3 separate regions of the Homo sapiens genome follow, and all the other regions are linked to region 1. The links are contacts of gene promoters, found by promoter capture Hi-C in human tissues and cell types (Jung and others, 2019). All regions are on one chromosome and are shown on one strand. The core of a region is centred on a gene start or on the middle of the fragment in contact, and the rest is flanking DNA. Distances in the headings are between cores, read along the strand shown.

Region 1 (3,609 bases), core at 768-3,267:
TCAAACATTATCCTATGTGTAGGAATAGGCAAGGTCTAGGGTCATTTATCTTTTAAGAAATATAGTGTCTCAGGCAAAAGTTGTGGGGGCCTTGTGCTGTATCCTGCTTTGTTTTCAAAGCATTTTTCCAGAGAGGTGCACATCATTACAGAATCAAGGGCTTGTGAAATTATGCAGCAAGTAAAATGAGCAAACGTGGCTTGTTACATTTGCTGTGTCTCACATTTCCCTTTCTCTTTTAACCTCTCCCTTCCCCAACCCGATCCCGACCCCTTGGAGAAGGGGCTGTTGCATTTGACAAAGAAATTGATCCTTATGTAGAGTAAGCAACTTGTTTAAAGTCATCCAGCAAATTAGAGGAAGCCCCATGCTGGGAGAACCCATCCTTAGAGGCCCAGCTAGAGGTCCGCAAGTAGACAGTGGAGGGTCGTAGGTAGGAGGACAGGCTTGGGGTCAGAGCAGCTCGGTTTACACCTGGCACCCTCGTTCACTAGCTGTGCAACCTTGGGAGCAAGTGTCTCAGAGTATTTAAAGGACAGTTTTTTCTATTCCTATACAAGATGTTAACATTAAGGGAAGCTGGTGACAGGTATATGGGAACTCTCTATACTATTTTCGTAACTCTTCTATAAGTCTAAAATTATCTCATGATAAAATTTTTAAAAATAACAGTTTCCTCTTATCTGTAGCATGGAAAGAGTAAGGATATCTGTCTCCTAGGAGGCTTCGATGAGACAGTGCCTGGAAAGGGGTTAGCACAGTGTCTGGCCCATGCTGACGACTCCATACATAACAATTCTTAAAAGCTGCCTCCTCCAGGAAGCCGGTGAGCACCACTGGCAGAACCAATCACTGCTTTCTCAGTAGCCCCACACCCTCACTGCCCAGGAGCAGTTTATTTCAGTGTAAAATGCCAGGCGGCTTAATGTGACCACTGACAGCACGAGTTTGATCCTGGCTTTTCTGCTTCTCAGCTGAGATCCCCAGCAAGTTACTTGAGCACTTTGTGCCTCAGTTTCCTTTTGGTAAATAATAAAAGTCTGTACATTATAAGGCGGTCATGAAGATTAAATGAACTGGAATTTTTCAGCACTTAGAACTCTGCCTGGCCTATAGCAAACTCTACATACCTATTTTTATGCTCCAGGTCAGTGGTTTTCTAACTTGCTTTTTACTGTTACCCATAGTAACAAATATGCTTTCCATCACAACGTGTGTATGTGTGTGTGTGTATAAATAATTTTAAAGTGGTAATTTCAAAAACATTGGTCTCTAAGAGATGATCACATTTTGTTTCCCCCATTAAAATATAAGGTACTTGGGGGACAGGGAATAGTCTGACTCATTTTGGTCTCCAATCACTTCATTTCCTTCTTTCATTTAATTTACCAAGCTCCTATTATCTATTCATTAGACATAAATATATATTGAGCATTAACTCACTATGTACCTGTTACCTACCAGCACAGATCAGACCTGGGTTGAATCAATGAACGGGTAAGGCAAGGAAAGGAGGTCGCAGGGCAGAAGGCAGGGAGGAAGGGCAGGAGGGTGAAATGGAAGGAAGGGAGGAAAGGTGGAGGGGAGGAAGGAGAGGGGGAGGGTAGGAGGGCGAGAAGGAAGGAAAAGAAGGAACCCAGGTTCCCAATTGGCAGCAGTACCCACTTCCAACCCCTATGTTGCCACTTCCACCTCGGCAGGAAAGTTGCCCCTTCTCCAGCCATCTAGGTCCCCTGTACTCTTTCCCTGGGGATGGAGCTGGGTGCCGGTGCAGGCATCGGAGGAGCGGTGCCGGGGAACCCGCCTCCTCACCTCTTGCCCCTAGCACGGGGCGGTGACTCCAGAGCTGGGAGCCTGGCAGCGTCCTCACCCCAGGAAGGCATGCGCCCCTCTGCGGGCGGCCCCAGCCCTGGGCCCCCTGCCCCCGGAATTGCCCAAGATGCCGGGTGACTCCTCCCCGGGGACTCTCCCACTCTGGGACGCGTCACTCTCCCCACCCCTGGGTCCGGACCCCGGCGGCTTCTCGCGCGCGAGCCACGCGGGGGACAAGTCGCGGCCACCTGCTCCGGAGCTGGGGAGCCCGGGCGCCGTCCGCCCGCGCGTCGGTTCGTGTGCCCCGGGCCCCATGGAGCTGCGGGTCAGCAACACCAGCTGCGAGAACGGTGCGTACGGCAGGGCTGGGGACCAGGCGGGCTCCGCGCTTCGCGCCCTCCCCTCCTTGCCACCGCTCTCCCTCGCATCCTCTCCTCCCAGGGGGGCCAAAGCTGGGGAGGGGCAGGGCCAGCACGAGGTGGCTCCCACCCAGCTTTGAAGATCTGGGTTCTGGCTGAGACTTCACTTTCATCTTCGCAGCTGGGATGGCTGAGAGGAGTCAGGGAAGGAAAGTATGTCCCCTGGGTTGAGATGGGGGGTTAGTGGGGGGCAGGCATTTTGACGACAGCAGACACCCTGAGAGGTGGTGGGGGCGGGGGGAGGATTCTGTGTTTTTAATGTGTAGTTGCTTCAGGTTTTAGTACCTGCGCAGTTTGGGCTTTCTCTCTGGGTCAATGGGAGGACCATCACAGGACGGTCTTGTCTTTGGAAAAGAAAAAGAACCACAGGAAGGGGTAAAGAAAGACCCCTGACTTCCTATTGCGTTCTGACCATAAAGCAGGTAGTGGACTAGGCCCTTTACCCGCATTATCTCACTGAATCCTTAAAACAACTCTAGAAGGTAGGTAGGTATTATTATTTTACTATCTTGCTATCCCCACTCTAAAGATCCAGAAACTGAGGCTCTGAGCAGCTAATAATTTGCTCAAGGTAATACAGTGAGGAAATGGAATATAGATCCAAGGCTGGTGGACAGTAAAACCTCAACTCCTTCCTTGGTGTGGCTCCACTTTCCTACCTTGTCTTGGAACTGCAGGCTGTGGCATGTCCCTGTTTCTCTAACCTCTTCCCTTCTACAGTGAAGCTTTCAAAGCCAGCCTGTTAGGTGTCTGACTTTGGTTTCCTGAACAAGGCAGGCATTTTCAGCCTCACCTTTTCTCTAGGCCAGAATGTGTTCCCCAGTCCTAGCATATTCTGGAAGAGATAACAGGAATCATCTGGCCCATGCTCAGAATTGGATTACTTTGGCCATCAGCCCTCTGTCTTTTACTTTTCACTGCAGTGGGAGAACTTGACTCAATGGAGGATGCTCAGCCCTTGGGTGTTGCGGGCTTTACTGTGACAGCCAAGTCCATCCACAGAGGGTTCGTTGGCTCCATCTGCTAGAGGTGCACCTTCAGGGAGCAGGGGAAGGGCGTGGGGATGAGTTTGGTCTTCCTCTCAGGAGTCACCTCCCCTAGCCCATGTTCTCCCAGGTTCTGGCTCATTTCCTGGGCTCAGGGAACTCCCCAGATTCAGCTCTTGGGCAAGGAAGCCTGAGCTGGAGAAACAGGAATGAGCAGTGCAGAACAAGTCTGATTAGGGACTGAGATGCCTCTTGTCTCATCTTCCCTTGATTGTGACACGAGTTTTGGAAAGAGAGATATCACACTGCAAAAGACACATGGATGTGCCCCAGTGGGTGCTGGATCCAGATCTTTCACCAGATGTTGGGGTGACTTAAGCAAGCTCTTCCCT
Region 2 (3,609 bases), core at 1,067-3,566, 190 kb before region 1:
TTACTGTCACCAGAAGGCATTTTTTGAGCACCCAGTGTCCACTTTCGGGATGAGAAACTTGTGTACACAGGGTTCCTCGTTGGCATTGGCTGCCCTTTGCCAAGGCAATTATTAGACCTCAAGAAGATAGTGTTGTTGCTTACAAAGTCAGTGCCTCTAGCTAGTTGTGCGCACTGAGCCTCTGGCTGGGGGCATTAGCTCTCTGCTCACTAAGCTTCTTTATTATATTTCCTGGCCAGTTCTGACCGGTTCTGTAGGCACCCAAGGCTGCCTTGTTCAGTCCCTGCTGGAAAATGAAAAAGGAAAAACTTGCTTTAGGCATTAGGCCAAGAGTCGGATGTACAACCCAGTGGGGTTGGAGAGTTTTACTCAAATCAGATGCTGGCCCAGAGAAGGAAGTAGACATGAATTCAAAAACCGGTAAAAGGCCCTGGTAGAACACTACATGACCCCTCTGATAAATCATGCCCTCTCTGATGTTCAGTGGCCTCTGCTGCTGTCATCAACCAGAAAGCTGAATGAGATGATGAATCGGCTACAAGCTAATTAACGGGAAAAGCGCTCCTGGAAAACAGTACGGGTCCCAGTCCCTACGTTTAAAGATTGGACTACACTCTCAACGCAGCTTCTTTGGACCACTGTTGGCCCCAGGGGTCCACCAAAAGCGTCACAAAATGGCCTTTTGTAGCCTCCATGTGGCCACCGTAACAATGAGTCTATTTCTTTACTGGCAAGTATTAATTATTCACTTGTAATTGACAAAGCCAGACATCAGTCACCTCACTGGAGTCTTTATGAAAGGCTTTTGGTCCTGTCATTCTGAGGAGCAAAGCCATGCCTAGGGTCCAGGGGATGGCCCCTGCATCAGTAGTGAGATGGTGGGAGAAGGGGGGCAGGCTGCTGCCTTCTTGGCAGTGAATGGAGGCAGGGGAGGAACTAGAATATCTTTGGATGCTCTTACTACCCAAGGGGTGCATGAAAGTGCCGAGCAGAATGCTTAGCACATAGTAAGTACTAGCATATTTATGTATTTATTGTTATAATGTATTAATTACATAATCATTAAGAATTTGGCTTATGTATGTAATCAACCCTTGGCTATTACCAGCCCCTCTCCCTCCAGAGCTTTCCTGAATTTTGCTTTTTTGAGGGAAGTTGGTCTCTGTGACCAGTAAACCCAGCCCCAAGTTTACCGGCCGAAGGAAGGGAAAGTTAAGAGTGATAGGGCATGAAGTGAAAGGCTTCAGGTGGGAAGTGCTCTTAAGTAGCACAAGAGAGGTGGGTGGAACCTGAGTAGGTAGGGAGAAGTGGGAGGGAACAAGCCAAGCAGAAGCCCAGGGCCATTCTCACATTTCAACACGTAGAGTTAAGGAAGGGCCTCTTCCTCTGTGAGAATTCAGCATTTTGCAACCATCCAAAAATGTTGAGGGCATGCTTTGCTTCCAGGGCAGACAGAGCAGCACAGTGAGCATGGGACACAGGATCCCTGACTTGCTGTGTGCCCTTAAACCAGCCACTACCTCTCTGACGTTCAAAATTGAGCAATGGAAGGCAGCCTGCCCAACTGTTACCTGCCTGTCATCATGAAAGCCTGCGGATGAGGTAATGTCTGTAAATCCCAGTCTGAGAAAAAAAAGCCGTGGAAATAGAGAAGGAGCCTCCTGAATGTGTGACTCTTTTGGGTAAATGCCCTCCATTCCTTAAGAAACAATTTATTAATTATATATTGTGTGTCACTTTAAGAAGATGGATCTGTGGCCTCTCTGTACTGTTGAGCCAATGGGAAGCTTAAAGGCACTTTGTGATTCACAGATTCTGTCAAGGCCCCTGGATGGCCTTGTCTGTACAAAGACACTTCAGAATTCAGTCAGTGGGTATGGGACGCCTCCCAGGATGCAAAGAGCTTAGATATTGGCTTTCTAGCCATGGGCATTATGCTAAGGGCTGTGTGTGATGTACCTCAAAAAATAGCCATTTAAGCCATACTTGGGCCCTGGCAACAGAGGGTGCAAATTCTTGAAAGAAATTGTTTTGAGAAGGCAGAGCTTGAGTTCAGGCAGAATTTCTTGCAGGGATCATTCTGGTTGCGTGGCATTTTGATAGACTTTGGGCAACTCAGATACAGGCAGTGAGAGAGGGAAGTAAATAGGACCTTCTTGCGAGATGCCTGAGAAAGACCCAGTGATGACTTCATCAGTAGACCTTTTGATTCTGTTTGCGTCATTATTTGGTCATTGTAGAGCAATGGTTCTTAGGCTTTAATCTCTAGGTAAAACAGAGGTGTGTTTAGTCTGTCCATGTTCTCTGTTTTCTAAGTAAGGCAGGAGGTGAGGTCCTCTGCAGGAAATAAAGGTGATGGACTGGTTAGGAAACTTCAGGAGACTTCAGGGTTTGGAACAGTTGCCTATGTGGGTGGAATAAGAAATAAACTGGGGAAGAATGAGAGAATTGTCTAACTTCACTGAAGGCCTGGCTGAGATCAAAGAGAATTTGCAGGGCTGACCCTCAGAGAAGACATGCAGTAACTCTTAAGGAATATCCGAGAACTATTTTTGATTTGTGCTTTTAAAATATGATGCTTTAAGATTTGTTTTGGCAAGATATGAATGGCAAGATAAGAATTCAGAACTAGAGGTCAGCCCCCTATCTCCAAGTCTGTTATACTTCCATATGGGAAAGAGAAATGAGGACCTGCTTCTTAGGGTTTGAAGTGGAAACTATACGACAGAAGGATTTTCTAAAGAACTCTCCTCAGATTCTTATATTGACAAGGCAGCCTTGGATATGGGACCTTAGAGAAGCATGATATTTTAACTTTCTTGTTAATTTTTTTAAACCAGAAGTTAAGAATTTTGGTCATTGGCTCATGCAGTCAACAAATCATTCATGAAGTATTAATTAAGCAAGTAATTCCTGGTGTGTGCCTATCTCTGTGCTGGTTGCTATGGGTCAAACTCAGATAAGATGACTATCCTTGGCATTCTTAGCAATCCAAAGAATTAGTGAAATATAAAGCAGTTTGTCGTGCAGTTAAAAACTGTGGACTCTAGACTGTGAGTGCTAAGGGAGTGAGAGAAATAAAGGTCATTAAGGGGCTTGGCTGGTCAGACCTTTGTGGAAAAGGCATGTCTTCGTGTGGGCCATGATAGATCGGTAAGATTTGAGAAGGGAAGAAGACAGTCCATAAGGGAGTGGAGACAGTTTGAGCAAAGGCACAAAGGAAGAGTATCCTTGGACAGGTTTATTATGCCCTGTATACCTTGGCCACAGAGAATGGTCTGCATGATCCTTAACACATGTCTTTAAGGAAGCCCTTTGGATGGAATGTCTCAACTGTAGTCATGGTCATTTGCTTTAGTGTTGGGAGGGTCCTGAGAGAGGCCCAAATCCAGTGATTCTTAACTGGTTGCTGTTGTGGTTTTTTTAGTACACAAAATGGACAATGTTGACATGCTGAACACATCAGCCCCCACAGCCAACCCCCCAACTCTGCTCCATTCCTGCCACTCAAGGGAAGAGATGAACATGCAAGCAATAATATCACACAGAGATCTTGAACCCTCGCCTCACATACAATAAAATGTACCTTGTTTGCAAACCTCAGTGCTT
Region 3 (3,609 bases), core at 593-3,092, 170 kb before region 1:
GCTCCAGACTATGCCTTGCAGACAAACAAAAATACACGAAGTTAAGGGTAAATGTCATGGTAAAAGTTCAAAGTTCTGTGTTTTTGAAGGAACCTTGAGAGAGTCAGAGAAAGCTTGATGTAGGAAGTGGCTTTTGTGTGAGGCCTTGTAGGAGGATAATGATACCTTGTAGATACAGTATACTTTAAAATATATGTAAGGCATTTTCATATATTATATTATTGGAGCTTTATAACAGCCCTGTGACTTGCAAAGGGATCATTATATCCATTTTAGGGATGAGAAAACTGAGGCCTAGAAAAGTTAATAAGCAGGTTGCTCATGATCCCACAACCAGTAAATCACAGGACTGGACCTGAAATCCAGGACTGATTGCCAGTCCTGATCTCTTTCTCCTGTTCCGTGCTGTCTCACACAGTTAGAATTTTACCAGTCAGAGATGAGACGGGGAGAGCACACCATGTGGAAGAGCTGGTGTGAGCAAAGGCACAGGGCAAGGATTTTCGAGGAGTGACTGGTATGGACTGTAAAGTGCATATAGGGATATTGTTTACAGATTCCCTACAAATAAAGGGTCGGGGCATAGAGGGTGTATTCGTTGGCTTGGATACCTTAACAAAGTGCCACAGACTAAATGGCTTAAACAGCAAAAATGTATTTCCTCCCCGTTCCGGAGATTAGAAGTCCAAGATCAAGGTGTCTGTAGGTTCGGTTTTTCCTCAGACTTTTTTCCTTGGCTCCCAGATGGCTGTTTCTCTCTGCATCCTCACATGGTCTCTTCTCTGTGTGCACACATCTCTGGCACCTTCTTTCTGTGTGTCCAGATTTCCTCTTTTTATAAGGACACCAGTCAGATTAGATCAGGGCCCTCTCTAATGGCCTCATTTTAACTTAATTACCTCTTTAAAGGCCCCGTCTCCAAATACAGTCACATTCTGAGGTCCTGTGGGGTTAGGGCTTCAACCTATAAATTTGGGGGGCACACAATTCAGCCCATAACAGAAGGCTTTAGTTTATTTAATAAAAAATTAAAAACAATGGAAAAATCTTTATCCTTAAAAGAGATATGAACAGAACGCAGCTTGGGGGACAGATTCCATGTGTTAGTCATATGTAGAATGAGTTGCAAGTAGGAATGAGGCAAATAAATTAGTCAAGATAATTAAAGTTATCTACACTGCAGGCATTCAAGGCTGAATGAGGGTGATGGCACTGGGGTACAGCTAAGAGGATATGGATGTGAGGGACACTGGCTTAGCAGTCACCTGGGACTGCACTGACTGAGTTCCCAGGAAGACCAGGTCAAGACACCAACAGAGCAGTCGGAAGGAGGGGTTAGGTTGGAGAGTGATAGTGTTCATTTTCTGTTACTGCCCTAATAGAGTGTCACAAACTTAGTGGCTTAGAAGAACACTGATTTATTTGCTTATAGTTTTGTAGGTCAGAAGTCTGACGTGGGTCTTACTGAGTTAAAATCAGGGTGCCAGCAGGGCCGCATTCCTTCTGCAGGCTCCAGGAGAAAGTCTGTTCCCTTGCCTTTTCCAGCTTCTAGAGGTGTCTACATTCCTTGACTCGTGGCCCCCAGCCAGCAGTGACATCACTCTGATCTCTGCCTGCATCTTCAAATCTCCTTCTCTGACTCTTCTGCCTCCCTCTTTTGCTTATGAGTACCTTGTGTTTACACTGGGCTCCCCAGGATAATCCAGAACAACCACCACCACCCGCCTACCCCCATTGCAAGGCTCTTAATTGGTCACATCAGCAAATTGCCTCTTTCCATGTGAAGGAACATATTCACAGGCACCAGGGATTAGGATACAGACATCTTGGGGGGACCATTATTCTGCCTACACAGGGAGAGTGTTGATGTGGCTTAGGCATGAGTCATGAGTGGCATGCAATGCTGACATTCCTGGATAACACCAAAATCTCCCTTCAGTCAACAGTGTCTTCCTCGTGCCTTCCCCAGTCTTTCTAAGGTAGCTTATTAGCAGCAATGTGGGTGTATGAGATGCTCATCTTCTTGTATGTCTCCTGTCCCCACTTGGGCAAGGTGAATCTCTCAAAGGACAGGATAGCCAGAGAAAAGAGGAGGAGGGGAAGTACGTAAACCACATAACTGACCAACTATATGGAAGAGTTGAGGGTTCTTTGCTGGGGTGAGATGGGGGCTGAGTGATCACTGGATCTGTCACTACATAAAATTTGAGCTACACTCACATTGGGTTTAAGTCATGGACTTTCAGAATATTAGAAATGTAAAGGACCTTAGAGATCCTTAGTCCTGAAGCTGTCAATGTGGGCTGCACAAGAGAATCAACCTGGGGATTGTTTAAAAACACCAGTGCCCCACCCCATCCCCAGGGATAAATATTTAGTTAATCTGGGGCATGGCTTAGGCATCAAATTCCCCAGGTGACTCTAATATACAACAAGGGTTGAACACGAATGATTCAGGCCAACTCTTTACCTCCAAGTAAGGAAACTAAGACATTACAAGTTAAAAGGTGGGCCCAAGAAGAGTGAGGACCAGAACTCAAGTTTCCCAAGACCCCACCCAGGGCTCTTTCCACTGCACCATCCTAACCTCTACATTCTAGCATAATTGCATGACAGATCTGGCTGATGGCCAAACTGTCCGTAGGGCAGAGTTCACATTCTTCTTGTTCACTGCGCTGTTTGCAGCACAAAGCACAGAGCCTGGGACCCATGAGTGCCCAGTTAAACATTCACTGAATGCATGAGTCGGAATTAACACCCGTCGGCAGGCAGGTTGGTGCTACAAGTAGACACGTGTTCCTTACGTGACTGTCACTTCCCCTTTTGGACATGTGTTCTGAGGCAGATGACTGCGGGACCCACGGGCTTGATTGGTTCTCCCTGTTCTCAAGGACAACATGTTACTGATTTTTAAAGTTCTCTAAATTAATCATTGAAGTGTGACTTGTCAATGACATTTGCTGCTGAAAACAGAACTGTCATAAGTAAATTGATCTGCTGTTATACTAATAAGATATTATGAAATGGTGGTATGTGGATTTAAAAATAAAGTTCATTTTTTAATATAGATATAAACATTTATAAAAAGAGATGGCCTAGTAAAATTCTTTCTTTGGTGATTTTTTTTTCAAAGTGTATTTCCATTTGAAGTGTACAATTCAGTAGTTTTCAGCATATTCACAATGTTATACAGCCATGGCTACTACCTAACTTTCATCACCCCTAAAAGATGCCCTGGACCTGTTAGTAGTCAATCCCAATTCCTCTCACCCCACCACCTCCTGGAAGTCACTAGTATACTTTCTGTTTCTATGGATTTGCCTATTTTCATCTAAATAAATAATCCAATATGGACCTTTTGTGTCTGGCTTCTTTTACTTAACATAATGTTTTCTTTCTTTCTTTTTCTTTTTTCTTTTTTTATTTTTATTTTTTTATTTTTTTTGAGATGGAGTTTTGCTCTTATTGCCCAGGCTGGAGTGCAATGGCACAATCTTGGCTCACCGCAACTTCCACCTCCCGGGTTCAAGTGATTCTTCTGCCTCAGCCTCCTGAGTAGCTGGGATTATAGGCATGCACCACCATGCCCGGCTAACTTTGTATTTTTAG

What was found. Contacts are between HindIII fragments. The study calls those that stand out against the background at their distance.
Region 2: a contact is called between a fragment that was not itself captured here and the fragment with the promoter of NIPAL4 in region 1, in 1 of the 25 tissues and cell types used here (thymus).
Region 3: a contact is called between a fragment that was not itself captured here and the fragment with the promoter of NIPAL4 in region 1, in 2 of the 25 tissues and cell types used here (mesendoderm cells and thymus).

What each region holds. Positions count from the first base shown.
Region 1 is chr5:157,458,196-157,461,804 of GRCh38, forward strand. NIPAL4 (NIPA like domain containing 4) reads left to right here and starts at 2,018. Exons shown (of 6, transcript NM_001099287.2): 1 at 2,018-2,162. The coding sequence starts at 2,126. It overlaps NIPAL4-DT (NIPAL4 divergent transcript), which reads right to left and starts at 1,905. Exons shown (of 3, transcript NR_136205.1): 1 at 1,813-1,905. RefSeq lists a silencer at 1,912-2,071. The HindIII fragment of the contact is 8,008 bases long and covers 1-3,609 here.
Region 2 is chr5:157,267,982-157,271,590 of GRCh38, forward strand. All of the region lies in intron 1 of CYFIP2 (cytoplasmic FMR1 interacting protein 2), which reads left to right. Among named protein-coding and RNA genes, the nearest start is that of CYFIP2, 3.7 kb to the left of the region's middle. The HindIII fragment of the contact is 6,073 bases long and covers 1-3,609 here.
Region 3 is chr5:157,288,792-157,292,400 of GRCh38, forward strand. All of the region lies in intron 3 of CYFIP2 (cytoplasmic FMR1 interacting protein 2), which reads left to right. Among named protein-coding and RNA genes, the nearest start is that of CYFIP2, 24 kb to the left of the region's middle. RefSeq lists a silencer at 2,872-2,921. The HindIII fragment of the contact is 6,760 bases long and covers 1-3,609 here.